3 separate regions of the Homo sapiens genome follow, and regions 2 and 3 are each linked to region 1. Evidence: promoter capture Hi-C in 16 types of primary human blood cells and fetal thymus (Javierre and others, 2016). All regions are on one chromosome and are shown on one strand. Each heading gives the region's core, a stretch centred on a gene start or on the middle of the fragment in contact. The rest is flanking DNA. Distances are from core to core; before and after follow the strand shown. Region 1 holds the start of LCE2C (late cornified envelope 2C). Region 2 holds the start of LCE3D (late cornified envelope 3D). Region 3 holds the start of LCE3C (late cornified envelope 3C).

Region 1 (3,874 bases), core at 765-3,264:
TCTCCCCCCTCACATTCTGAGGGTGGCTTGGCAAAAAAGATAAGTATTGAAGGAGGAAAGGTCTATTCTTTCATACAGCGTTTTGTATTCTTTGTATTCTTATGTTCCTTATATTCTTTGTATCTTCTAAGCAACACTTCCATGTTTTTTCACTTAATATCTCCATCACTCATCACTCCCCTGCCCAGCACGTGAGCCAAGTGGCAGGACAGCATCCTGGGACTCAGATCTAACACTGTGAGGAACTGAAGCCAGGTGTCCAAGGCAGCAAGTCAAAAGGCTGATCTTAACCAGACTCATGAAAAGAAGCTGAGTGACCATGGGCTGTACTTTACAGGAGGAAGGGTCTCAACATCTGTTTCAAGCATTTTATCCAACTATTGATTCTAAGGGCAGGAAAGTTTTGCTTCATAGGGATGTGTTCTTCTCCCTAGAGAAGAACAAGTCTGCAGAGCTTCCCAACCTTCCCAACGTCTGGATTACACAGAAAATTAGAACATGTGTCTGGCTTAGTGGAGAGAAAGGCAAAGCTACCATAGCCAGAGGTGACCCTCTTGGAGCTCCATTCACTCAGCATCTGGGGGAATCAGTTCCTCAGAGCAGCTTTTCATGTATCACCTACTCATGTCCTGTCCTAGCCTCATGAAGAAAATTACTCTGAGGCCCTGACCTTTGGAGGACATTTGAAATCTCAGAAGAGAAGAGAATGACCAAGACATTTAGTGAGTCAGAGATCAGAGCTTTATTATAACATGAGGTAAAGGAGGAAAAGAAGACTTGCAATTGGGGTGTTACATCAAGCACGAAGTTCTTCCAGGAAAGCCCCATGAGTCTTTGTGGTCTCTGCCAACCAATGAATGGAATGAGAGGAAGTGGAAAGAGTATCCATCAGGCCGTAGCAGGTTCTTGGCCATTCAGTCCCAAGAGCTCTTCTGTAGCCCAGGTCAGCAGCAGCCCCCAGAGCTGTGGCAGCAGCCAGAGCCCCCAGAAGGTTCACTCTCACAGCAGTCGGGGCTCTGGTGCCGGCGCCGGTGGAAGAGACGGGGCCTGTGGTGGCTCAGGGAGCAGCCACCAGCCCCAGAGCTGCAGCAGCCCCCAGAGCTGGGACCACAGCAGCTCCCAGAGCTGGGACCACAGCAAGAAGAGACTGCAGGGAAACATGGAGCTGGGCACTGTGGTGGGCATTTGGGGGGACACTTAGGTGGACATTTTGGGGTACACTTGGGAGGACACTTGGGAGGGGGCTGGCACTGCTGCTGGTTTTGCTGGCAAGACATGCTGGCAGGAGTTTAGTCAACCTGAAAGATAATAATGAAACTCTTTAAATATTTCAAACCAAGGATCATATTATACCTCTTCTAAAATCAATGCATGTGTAGAAGAAGAATGATATTTAGATAATACAATCACATCAGTAACCTGAAAGAAACAACTTGAATCTTTCCTCTAGATAAAAGTACGTAGATAAAAAATCAACAGAATGAGCTTCTTACTCTTCCTTTCAGGGGAAACTGCGATTGCTCTATCCTCACAAGCCCGAATAGAGTATTCACAGCTCCCTGAAGTACCTATTCCTTTAATACAAGCCCTAAGGACAAGCTGGGTGTTGCAGGACATACCAAGGGGTCCTCTGGAAAATATTTTGCAATGAAACCTCCAGATAAAAGAGCCTGGCTTGAAGTATTTGCCAGTTTCCATGGTGTAAATATGCCCAACACAGCAGTTTTGAAGTTACCAACATGAAGTCACTGAACACAGAATTGGAAAAGATGTGCACAGTTAGCTTTCCCCACCTATATGAGCTCCGGTAGGCCTCAGAGCCTCAACAGATTCGAGGCAGGCTGAGTCCCATTCCTGCTCAGTATGGCAGAACACAAGCACACAACTCTTTCTCCAGCCTACCTCCATCCTCCCCATCCCTCTGCCTTGCTCATACCCCTCTGGTATCCCAGGTTGCCACTCACCCTGGTCACACGCAGGAGCACAGACACGTCCCTGGGGAGTCAGAGCAGATGAGATGCTGAAGCTGGATGTGTCTTTTATAGGGCCCAGGCTTGGCTCTGGAAAGAGCAGGAGGTGGCTCTTGCACAACCAGGCACACGCTGGGTCATTCCTGACATTCTCCTGCCTCTTAGTCCCTGCAATCCAAAGAGGCCTCAGGAGCTTCCAGGACTCCTCTCTGGGGCTGCAGTCTAGAGAGGCTGTAGCCAGTCAGAGCCTCCACCAGGTGGGAACCCTAAAGAGTTAACTTAGGGTACCCAAGGGACCCACACCTGGACAAGATTCTGTTCCCTGCATTTTTTTAATGCATGTCCTCTGAGGAAACATCAGTTCTGAGCCACAGCTTTCCCTGACCTTGTGGAAATGTTCCATTATGACTCCCTCCACCCTGAGCAGTTTCTCTTCCATGTCCTGCTGTGGATCCAGCCATCCCAGAGGGCTTCTACAGCCTTGGCTTTTTCTAGGCATCCCTCCCTTGCCTAGGCTCTCAGCCCTTCCTCCTGGCCTCTGTGTTTCTGCTTTTCCTCCGACTCACCATGGCAAGCAGATTCGGTGGATTAAATCTGAGTTGATTCTGTCACCTAAAGCAAGGAGAATGATTGAGAATAAACAATTCCCTCTAAAATCTAAACATTTCCTTCAGTCAGAGGACTTGTATTGAATGTGCTACTGGAATCAGAAAACTTGCATATGATAACTGGGTAATCTCTGAAAGTTGCTGTAACAATTATCAATAATTGCTAGAGTATTACTATGATACTCACTGTGAGTATCAGTTCTCACATATAATGCCCATTATAAACCTATCAGTGAGATATACCTATCTCACTGAGCTGTTTGTAATATAAAGTGAGAAGCAAGAAAGAGCTAAGTATGACATTTTGTGCCTGATAGACCCTTAATAAATATATGTTTAATAGAAAAACTAATGCCATGTATTGGATACTTGCCCCGGTCTTATGTGTCATTAATTGCCCATATAGAGCCCTTACCCTCAGAGAGCTTAACTCCACCAGACACTTAGATTATTTGAAACCTGTCTTGGGAAGTAGACATCATTTCTTGGGGCTCCTATGCAGAGGGAACTCCTTTCCTACCAGGAAGTAGAGGGTCAGCCAGGAATCTAGTTATTCAGAGTTCTGATTCAGGGTTGCACTAGACAGAGTTACCCAGTCATTTATTCATTTAGTTTAAACAGATACATTGAGTGTGAACCTTGAAAACATTACACTACGTGAAAGAAGCCAGTCACAAAAGACTGCATATTGTATGATGTTATTTATATGAAATGTGTAGAGTAGGCAAATCTCTGGAAATAGAAAGGGGATGAGGCTTTAGCCAGTTACAGCCTCTCCCAGGCTGGACCCCTGAAGAGCTGACTCAGGGCATCCGAGGAACAAGAGCCTGGATGAGATTCTGTTCCCTGTATCTCCTTTTATGTTTATGCCTGTCCTCTGAGAAATATCAGTGGCTTCCAGGTGCTTTAGCGGGCTGGGAGATATTGAGAAGTTACTGCCAATGGATACAGGTTTTCTTTGTGAAGTAATGAAAATGTTCTAAAATTATGGTGGTGATTGTCCAACTCTGTGAATATACTGAAAACCATTGAATTTACACTTTAAACAAATGAACTACAAATATGTTAATTACATCTCAATAAAGGTGTTAAAAATTAGAATTGAAAAAAATAGATATTCACACCTCTGATTAAAACAGAAACAGACTGTGCCTTCACATTGCCTAATGCCTACTTAGTGGGGGAGGGGAGGATGCGGAGAAAGCATAGTTTCCCATTGTCAGCTTCTAACTGAGGGATTCTGTTCTCCTAGTTATGCAATCCTATTATCAGATCTGATTCCTGCTCTCAGGAAGC
Region 2 (3,874 bases), core at 372-2,871, 95 kb after region 1:
GTTCTTATAATTTTGCCTTTTCAAGAATGCCCTATAATTAAAATTATATAATATGTAGTATGTAAAGTCTGACTTCTTTTGCATTTGAGATTCATCCCTGTTGTTTTATATATCAGTAGTTGATTCCTTTTTTATTGCTAAGTAGCCTTCCATTGCATAAATATACCATTTTTAAAACTCTATTCATCAGTTGAAGATCTTGTGGGGTTCTTCAAATTCAGGGCAGTTATGAATAAAGCCACTATAAATGTTGGGCTACAGGTTTTTCTGTGAACATACAACTATATTTCTTTTGGCTAAATATCTAAGAATAGGATTTCTGGGGCAAATTGTAAGTTGTATGTTTAATTTTTTTGATAGACTGCCAACTAATGTAATTTTGCATTTCTACCAGCAATGACTTGGGCTTCTTGTTGTTCTACATCCCTCATATTACTTGATATTGTCATTTATTTCATTTTAGCCATTCCAATGTGTATAGAGTGGTATCTCACTTTGCTTTTAAATTGCATTTCTCTAATGACTGATTAGGTTGAGTATCTTTTCATGTGCTTAACTGCCACCCATATATCTTCTTTGTTAAAATGACTCTTCAAATACTTTGCCCATATTTTCTGTGTTATTACCTATTTTTGAGAATTTAAAAAACATTGGCCGGGCACAGTGGCTCTGTAATCCCACCACTTTGGGAGGCCGAGGCGGGTGGATCACAGGTCAGGAGATAGAGACCATCCTGGCTAACACAGTGAAACCCCATCTCTACTAAAAATACAAAAAAATTAGCTGGGTGTGGTGGCAGGCGCCTGTAGACCCAGCTGCTTGGGAGGCTGAGCAGGGAGAATGGCGAGAACCCGGGAGGCAGAGCTTGCAGTGAGCCAAGATCGCGCCACTGCACTTCAGTCTGGACGACAGAGCAAGACTCCGTCTCAAAAAATAAAAATAAAAAAAAAATTCTTGAACCAAGTCCTTGGTAAGATTTGTGTTTTACAATATTGTCTCCAAGTCTGTGAATTTTCTTTGCATTTGCCTAGCAGTGCCTTTTGAAAAGCAGAAGTTTTTAATTTTGATGAAGTCCTATATTTCTTTTTTGAATTGTACCTTTTTGGCATATCTGAAAAATTTTGCATAACCCAAAGTCACAAAGATTTATTATGTTTTATTGCAGAAGTTTCATAGTTTAATTTTTTAAATTATGATCTATTAATTTTTATATCTAGCATTAGGTATGATTTCTTTTACATATGGACGTCCAATTATTTCATCTCTATTTGTTGAAATGACTATTATTTCTCCAGTCATGACTCAAGAAAGAATTATGTCATACTAATTCCCAGGAAATTGTAAAGGACAGACTGTGCTCCACAGCACGTGAGTTGAAACAAGGAAGAAGGGAGGAAGAAAAGAAGCAGTGGTAGCCTCCCAGGTGAGAGGTATGTGGACAGTGATCCTGCTTCCAGGTTCAATGTCATTGGTTGGATATTATGGAAGTGCCAAAGCTACAAACCTAGTCTTGGGCGTGTGCCTTGTTGACACCTCCCCTGGTTGTGAAAGCAGCAGCATGCCCAGGCTGTGCATCACACACCGTGCACAAGATAAAAGCACTCCTGCCCTGGGCTCCTCATCCACCGTCTCCTCAGGAACAGCCTTCTCCTGCCTCCTCTGCACCTGGTGAGTGTCCAGCAGGGGATGGGACTCAACTTGGGATGTTGGAACAGAAAACTAAGGTCATAGCAGGAGAGGGAAATGGAGAGATCTGAAACAAAAGCCCGGAGAGAGGATGGCAGAGAGGGTACCAATGTGGGAACTGGGGCCAGGAGGGAGACCCTGCAGGAACTGACAGCAATTCCATGACCTGCAAAGGCCACAGAAGCTTATGATTCCTTCCCATCCTCTTTCTACTCAGGCTGGCACATGTTTCCTATGATCTCCATTCTCCAGAATGCCTTTTGTCAAAAGGGTACATTCCTAGAGGCTCTTTGGAGAAACAGAAACATGGATGCCCACTTAGACTCACAGCAATCTGTCCCTGGTGGAGAACAAAGTGAGAGGCATCTGGCATGTCCCACCAACTCCACATCAGCTTCCCTCACCTTCCTGCAGCTCTTGCCTCAGGAGGCCGCTGGTCTTAGAGACATTGGACTGTAGATTTTGGACTAACAAATGGCTTTGTTTTGTCCAGGACAACTCAACTCCTGCCAAGATGTCCTGCCAGCAGAACCAGCAGCAGTGCCAACCCCCACCCAAGTGTCCCTCACCCAAGTGTCCCCCAAAGAGCCCAGTACAGTGTCTGCCTCCAGCTTCCTCTGGCTGTGCCCCAAGCTCTGGGGGCTGTGGCCCTAGCTCCGAGGGCGGCTGCTTCCTGAACCACCACAGGCGCCACCACCGATGCCGGCGCCAGAGGCCCAACTCCTGTGACAGGGGCAGTGGTCAGCAAGGCGGGGGCTCTGGCTGCGGCCATGGCTCTGGAGGCTGCTGCTGACCTGGATCCTGATGCTGAGACAAGCGATTTTGGAGGAAACAAGAATCCCAAGGGCCCAGGAAAACCCCATCTTGATGCATGAGTTCCCAGATACCCTCTTCTGGCTTTCACAGGCTGAGCTAGGGGTTTTCCTGTGGAAGGTCTGAGCTCTCCCCAGAAGGCACTTCCTGTCTGATGTCCAGGATGTCACATGTTCCCTTACCCCTGTACCTGTGAAGGATTGGCAGTGCTTGTGCCTGACCTCATCAAAAAATAAAGCTCCTTGTCCTCATTACCACTGGTGTCTCCCTTGGCATTTCACTCTGTCTCTCCCTAGGTGGGGCTGGAAGTGTGCCCTCCTGTCTGCCCCTGACATCCAGCACCACCACAGGGAAGATGCAGAATTCTAGCTCTAGGTCTGCAAAATTCAGGAATCTGTCGAGTCCTTTTCTGCTGGAATTGTGCGGCAGTGGGGGACAGGATGTGATGAGAGGGGTTGTAGTGAGGCCTCTAACTGTCAGAAAAGAATGACTGAAATGTGATTGTCCTCTCATAATGGACTCCCCAGTCGTAGGAGGAGCTAGCTACTAGATGTTTCTGACATCTCTATTACAAAACAGTGAAGATGTAGCAGGCAATTATCAAAAAAATAGGCAGAATTAGCATTTCTTCTAAAGGGGTAAATTTGACTCTCCAAGGGACATTTTTTGTTGTCAAAACTTAGAGGTAGAAAGAGAATTTCTGGCATCTAGTGGGTAGAGGCCAGGGATGCAGCTAAGCCTCCTACTAAGCATAGAACAGCCCCACAGTGGAGAATTATCTGCCCCAAGAAGTCCAATAATTGCAAGGCTGAAAACCTTTAGACTACAATTAAAAGATGGGTAAAGAAAAACATGGCCTCAGCTGTCTGTAATCCTAGCACTTTGGGAGGCTGAGGCAAGTGGATTACCTGAGGTCAGGAGTTTGAGACTGCCTGACCAACATGATGAAACCACATGTTATATGGTTAGTCTCTACTAAAAATACAAAAAAAAAAAATAGCTTGGCATAGTGGCAGATGCCTGTAATCCCAGCTACTCAGGAGGCTGAGGCAGGAGAATTGCTTGAACCTGGGAGGCAGAGGTTGCAGTGAGCCTGTTGTACCACTGCACTCCAGCCTGGGCAACAAGAGTGAAACTCCATTTCAAAAAGAAAAGAAAGAAAAGAAAAGAAAAAAGAAAAAGCTGGTCTCAGGAAAAACAGATAACTCCACATACACAATTAAATCTTCAGAGAGAGAAGGTGGAGGGAGTAGAATTAATTAAAGCTTAAGAAGTCCTGGGTCAGGGGAGAAATGGAGCTGAGAGCTTAGGGAATGTAGTAATGTGGAAGGTGTGGACTGAGACCATTAAGATAAAGGAAGAGAGAAAATGAGAA
Region 3 (3,874 bases), core at 425-2,924, 75 kb after region 1:
GTTAAGGGTCCCTTCAGTGGCCTCTGTCCTGCAAAGAGACATTTAAAAGAGATAGACCAAGCACTTTCTCATGGTAGCCAGATTGTGGGGCTGAATATAGCTGAGTGACCACTTTTGCTTCTTAGGAGTAAAATCTGTAGTCATTGGGATACAACAACAGAGGAGTAAGTTCTGAAGTTTCAGAACACCCCAGAACTGTAATGGGGGGCCCTTTCTGTTCCTATGGAATGCAGCAGATGTCCACAAATGAGTTTCTCCACAGCCCCAACCCTGATGCCTGGCTTGGGAGGCTCCATACCCATCCTGGTGATGGTGCCCATCAACCTTTCCTCCCCTCCATGAGGGGCTCCCAATTCCTCGCTCCTCTGTTTGTCATCAGAGCAAAAACTACACAGGTCTGAGGCTGAGCAGGTGTCCTGTGATGACAGAGGGTTGGCTGGGAGAACACAGCCCAGTTACTTGCCCGAGCATGAGGTCAGCTCTCTGGGGTCACCTCTACCAGGGGTAACACACTTAAATCTCTGGCTTTCTAAGGTCCTGCGAGTTCGGGTGACAGGAGAACCTGGCCTGGATGGATAAATCCTGGATAGTTTCCTAACAAGTGAGACACCGTGGTAATGAGAACAAGAAGCTTTATTTTTTGGCAGGGTTAGGCACAGGGAACTGCCAATCCTTGGCAGGGGCAGGGATGAGGGAACTGTGAGATCCTATACACCAGACAGGAAGCACCTTCTGGGGACAGCTTGGATACTCAACAGGAACACCCCCAGCTCAGCTTGTGAAAGCCAGAACAAGGTATCTGGAAAAGCATGCATCAGGATGGAGCTTTTCCTGGGCCTTTGGGATCCTTGTTTCCTCCAAAGATCACTTGTCTCATCATCAGGATCCAGGTCAGCAGCAGCCCCCAGAGCCATGGCCACGGCAGGAGCCCCCGCCTTGCTGACCACTGCCCCTGTCACAGGAGTTGGATCTCTGGCGCCGGCATTGATGGGACCTGAAGTGCCTGTGGTGGCTCAGGCAGCAGCCACTTTCAGAACTGGGGCCACAGCCCCCGGAGCTTAGAGCACAGTCAGAAGAGGGTGGAGGCAGACACTGTGCTGGGCTCTTTGGGGGACACTTGGGTGAGGGACAACTGGGAGGGGGCTGGCACTGCTGCTGGTTTTGCTGGCAGGACATCTTTGCAGGAATGCAGGAATTTTACCTTGAACAGAATAATAGAAACATTTGAGCACAGAACCCTCAGACCATCTCCTTATTTTTGGGTTTGTCACACACTGACCCCCTTGATGAAGCCACTTTCTAAGCCAAGATCTGTAGGAGAGAAATGGGAATGTAGTAGAGGGAACCCTACACATGCATTTGGATAAAGCAACCTTAAAAATATAAAATGGATCTATGTGCATTCCTGACAACATGCTCCAAACAAGAATGTGAAGGAATCCTAAGGTCCTGCGGGTTTTGCAGCTCACGGGTCCCTGACATGTGCTTTAGAGGCTCCTTATTCTCCATCACCTCCCCCACTGCTGCCCACTGTGGGCTTCTTTCTGATGGTTCCATTTCAGTTCTGGGCCTCTCTTTCCCAAACACTCCCAGCTGAGGATCTGTCCCCTGCTGGCCACTCACCAGATGCAGAGGAGGTAGGAGAAGAAGGCTGCTCCTAAGGATGCTGTGGATGAGAAGCCCAGGGTAGGAGCCCTTTTATCCCGTGCAGTGTACACGATGATGCACAACCTGAGTATGCTGCTGTTTTCACAACCAGGGAGGTGACAGCACCAGACACTTCCCAGTTGCCTGCTGCCTCAGCATGTGCCTAAAGGTGTAATAAGATGACCCCTGTGTCTTCCTGGGCACATGCCTAAAGATTTAATAAGATGGAAGCAGGATGTCCTCGTGACTGCAGAAGTACTTCCCACTCTGGTCCACCCTGTACCTCCTGCCCACCTCTGCTTGTTCATTCCAAGCTCTGTTCGTTTTACTTCTTTCAACAGTAGTAGTATGGAGATGTATCGGACATATTTCTTCCATTGAGCACCTTACAGCCTAAATGGACTATCACTCAGAAAAGTAAATATATTTGATCTGACAGAATAAGCACTATCACAGAAGTGTTTAAAAAGACTTCAAGCCTAAGACCACAGCCTTTGTAAGTCAGTCCTCTATTGCACTGATGGTCCCAAAGGGTGATGGTTTTCAGGTGTTCTCCAGGAATGACAGCTGGACACACTTACCATTTTTTGTAATAAGACCACTCAAAGTCTACTCTTTTAGAAATTTTCAAAAATACAATACATTGTTATAGTCATCATGCTGTACAATAAATCTCCTGAATTTATTACTCCGGTCTTATTGAAATTTTGTATCCTTTGACCAACATCTCCCCAGTTCTTCCCCACTCCCCAACCCAACCCCTGATAATGATCATTTCTACTTCCACGCACTCGACTTTTTAGGATTCCACATAAAAGTGAGATCACGAATATTTGTCTTTCTATATCTGGCTTATTTTACTTAGCATAATATCTTTCAGGTTTATACATGTTGTCACAAATTAGAAACTTCCCTTTTTATATAAGGCTGAGTTGTATTCCATTACACTTATATAACATGTTTTTTAATCCATTTACCCACTAAAGGACACTTAGGTTGATTCTATATCTTGACTGTAGTAAACAATGCTGCAATAAATTTGGGAGTGCAGATATCTCTTCAAAATACTGATTTCATTTCCTTTAGCTATATACCCAGTAGTGGGATTGTTGAATCACATAGTAGTTTCATTTTTAATTTTTTAAGGAAACTTCACACTGTTTTCCACAATGGCCATACTACTTTACTTTCCCACTAATACTGTAAAAAGGTTCCCTTTTCTCCAAATCTTTGCCAATACTTGTTATTTCTTGTCTTTTGATAATAGCCATTCTAGCAGATGTGAGGTGATATTGTGTTTTTAACTTGCATTTCCCTGATTATTAGCGATGTTGAGCACATTTTTATATATACTGTAGGCCATTTGTATGGCTTCTTTTGGGAAACTCCCTGTGCCCACTTTTTTGATTGGTTTATGTGTTTTCTTGCTACTGAGTTGTTTGAGTTTCTAAAATATTTTGAATATTAACTCCTTATCAGATGTGTAGTTCACAGATATTTTATCACATACTGTATGTTGTCTCTTCACTCCATTAACTGTTTGCTTTATTTTGCAGAAGCTTTTTACTTTGATGCAACCACATTTGTCTATTTTTTATTTTGTTGCCTGTACTTTTAGGGTCAAAATTCAAAAATAATATTTGCCCAGGTCTAATGTCAAGAAGTTTTCCCCCTGTGTTTTACTCCAGTAGTTTTAAAATTTCAGGTCTTATGTTTAAGACTTTAATACAAAATCAACGTACAGAAATCAGTAGCACTTACACATACCATAACAACTATCCAAAAAAAGAAGTTAAAAATCCCATTTATAATATCATCCAAAAAATACTTAGGAATAAATTTTACCAAAGAAGTGAAAGATCTGTATACTAAAAACTATAAAACATTGAGGAAAGAAAATGAAGACACAAATAGAAAGATATTACATGTTCACAGACTGGAAAAGTGAATGTTGCTAAAATGTTCATACTAGGGGAGATGTTAGAAATATAATAGAATAGGAATTCTCTGACTCCAGTAGTCCCACCACAGAAATCCAACTAGCAACCAACAGCAGACAAGGATACCCTTGTGAATATCTCAGAACTTGAAGTGAGGCACAGACATCCCCTTGGACCACAGTACTGAGAAAAACCACACACGTAGAGCAAGAGGAGGTTTTACTTTGACCACACTGTCCCTCCCTCAAGCCAGCACATCACACATAAGAGGATTCCCAGAACCCATG

What was found. The method cuts DNA at HindIII sites, captures the fragments that hold promoters and counts their contacts. A CHiCAGO score of 5 or more calls a contact.
Region 2: a contact is called between the fragment with the promoter of LCE3D here and the fragment with the promoter of LCE2C in region 1, in 11 of 17 cell types (neutrophils, total CD4 T cells, activated CD4 T cells and 8 more). The highest score is 19.5, in neutrophils.
Region 3: the fragment with the promoter of LCE3C here is called in contact with the fragment with the promoter of LCE2C in region 1 in 2 of 17 cell types (activated CD4 T cells and naive CD8 T cells); the score reaches 6.8 in activated CD4 T cells.

Annotation. Positions count from the first base shown.
Region 1 is chr1:152,673,419-152,677,292 of GRCh38, reverse strand. It overlaps LCE2C (late cornified envelope 2C), which reads right to left and starts at 2,014. Exons shown (of 2, transcript NM_178429.5): 1 at 1,965-2,014; 2 at 724-1,298. The coding sequence starts at 1,277. The coding sequence ends at 945. The HindIII fragment of the contact is 8,836 bases long and covers 1-3,874 here.
Region 2 is chr1:152,578,263-152,582,136 of GRCh38, reverse strand. It overlaps LCE3D (late cornified envelope 3D), which reads left to right and starts at 1,621. Exons shown (of 2, transcript NM_032563.2): 1 at 1,621-1,668; 2 at 2,180-2,756. The coding sequence starts at 2,201. The coding sequence ends at 2,479. The HindIII fragment of the contact is 6,032 bases long and covers 1-1,872 here.
Region 3 is chr1:152,598,034-152,601,907 of GRCh38, reverse strand. It overlaps LCE3C (late cornified envelope 3C), which reads right to left and starts at 1,674. Exons shown (of 2, transcript NM_178434.3): 1 at 1,624-1,674; 2 at 822-1,201. The coding sequence starts at 1,176. The coding sequence ends at 892. The HindIII fragment of the contact is 2,575 bases long and covers 634-3,208 here.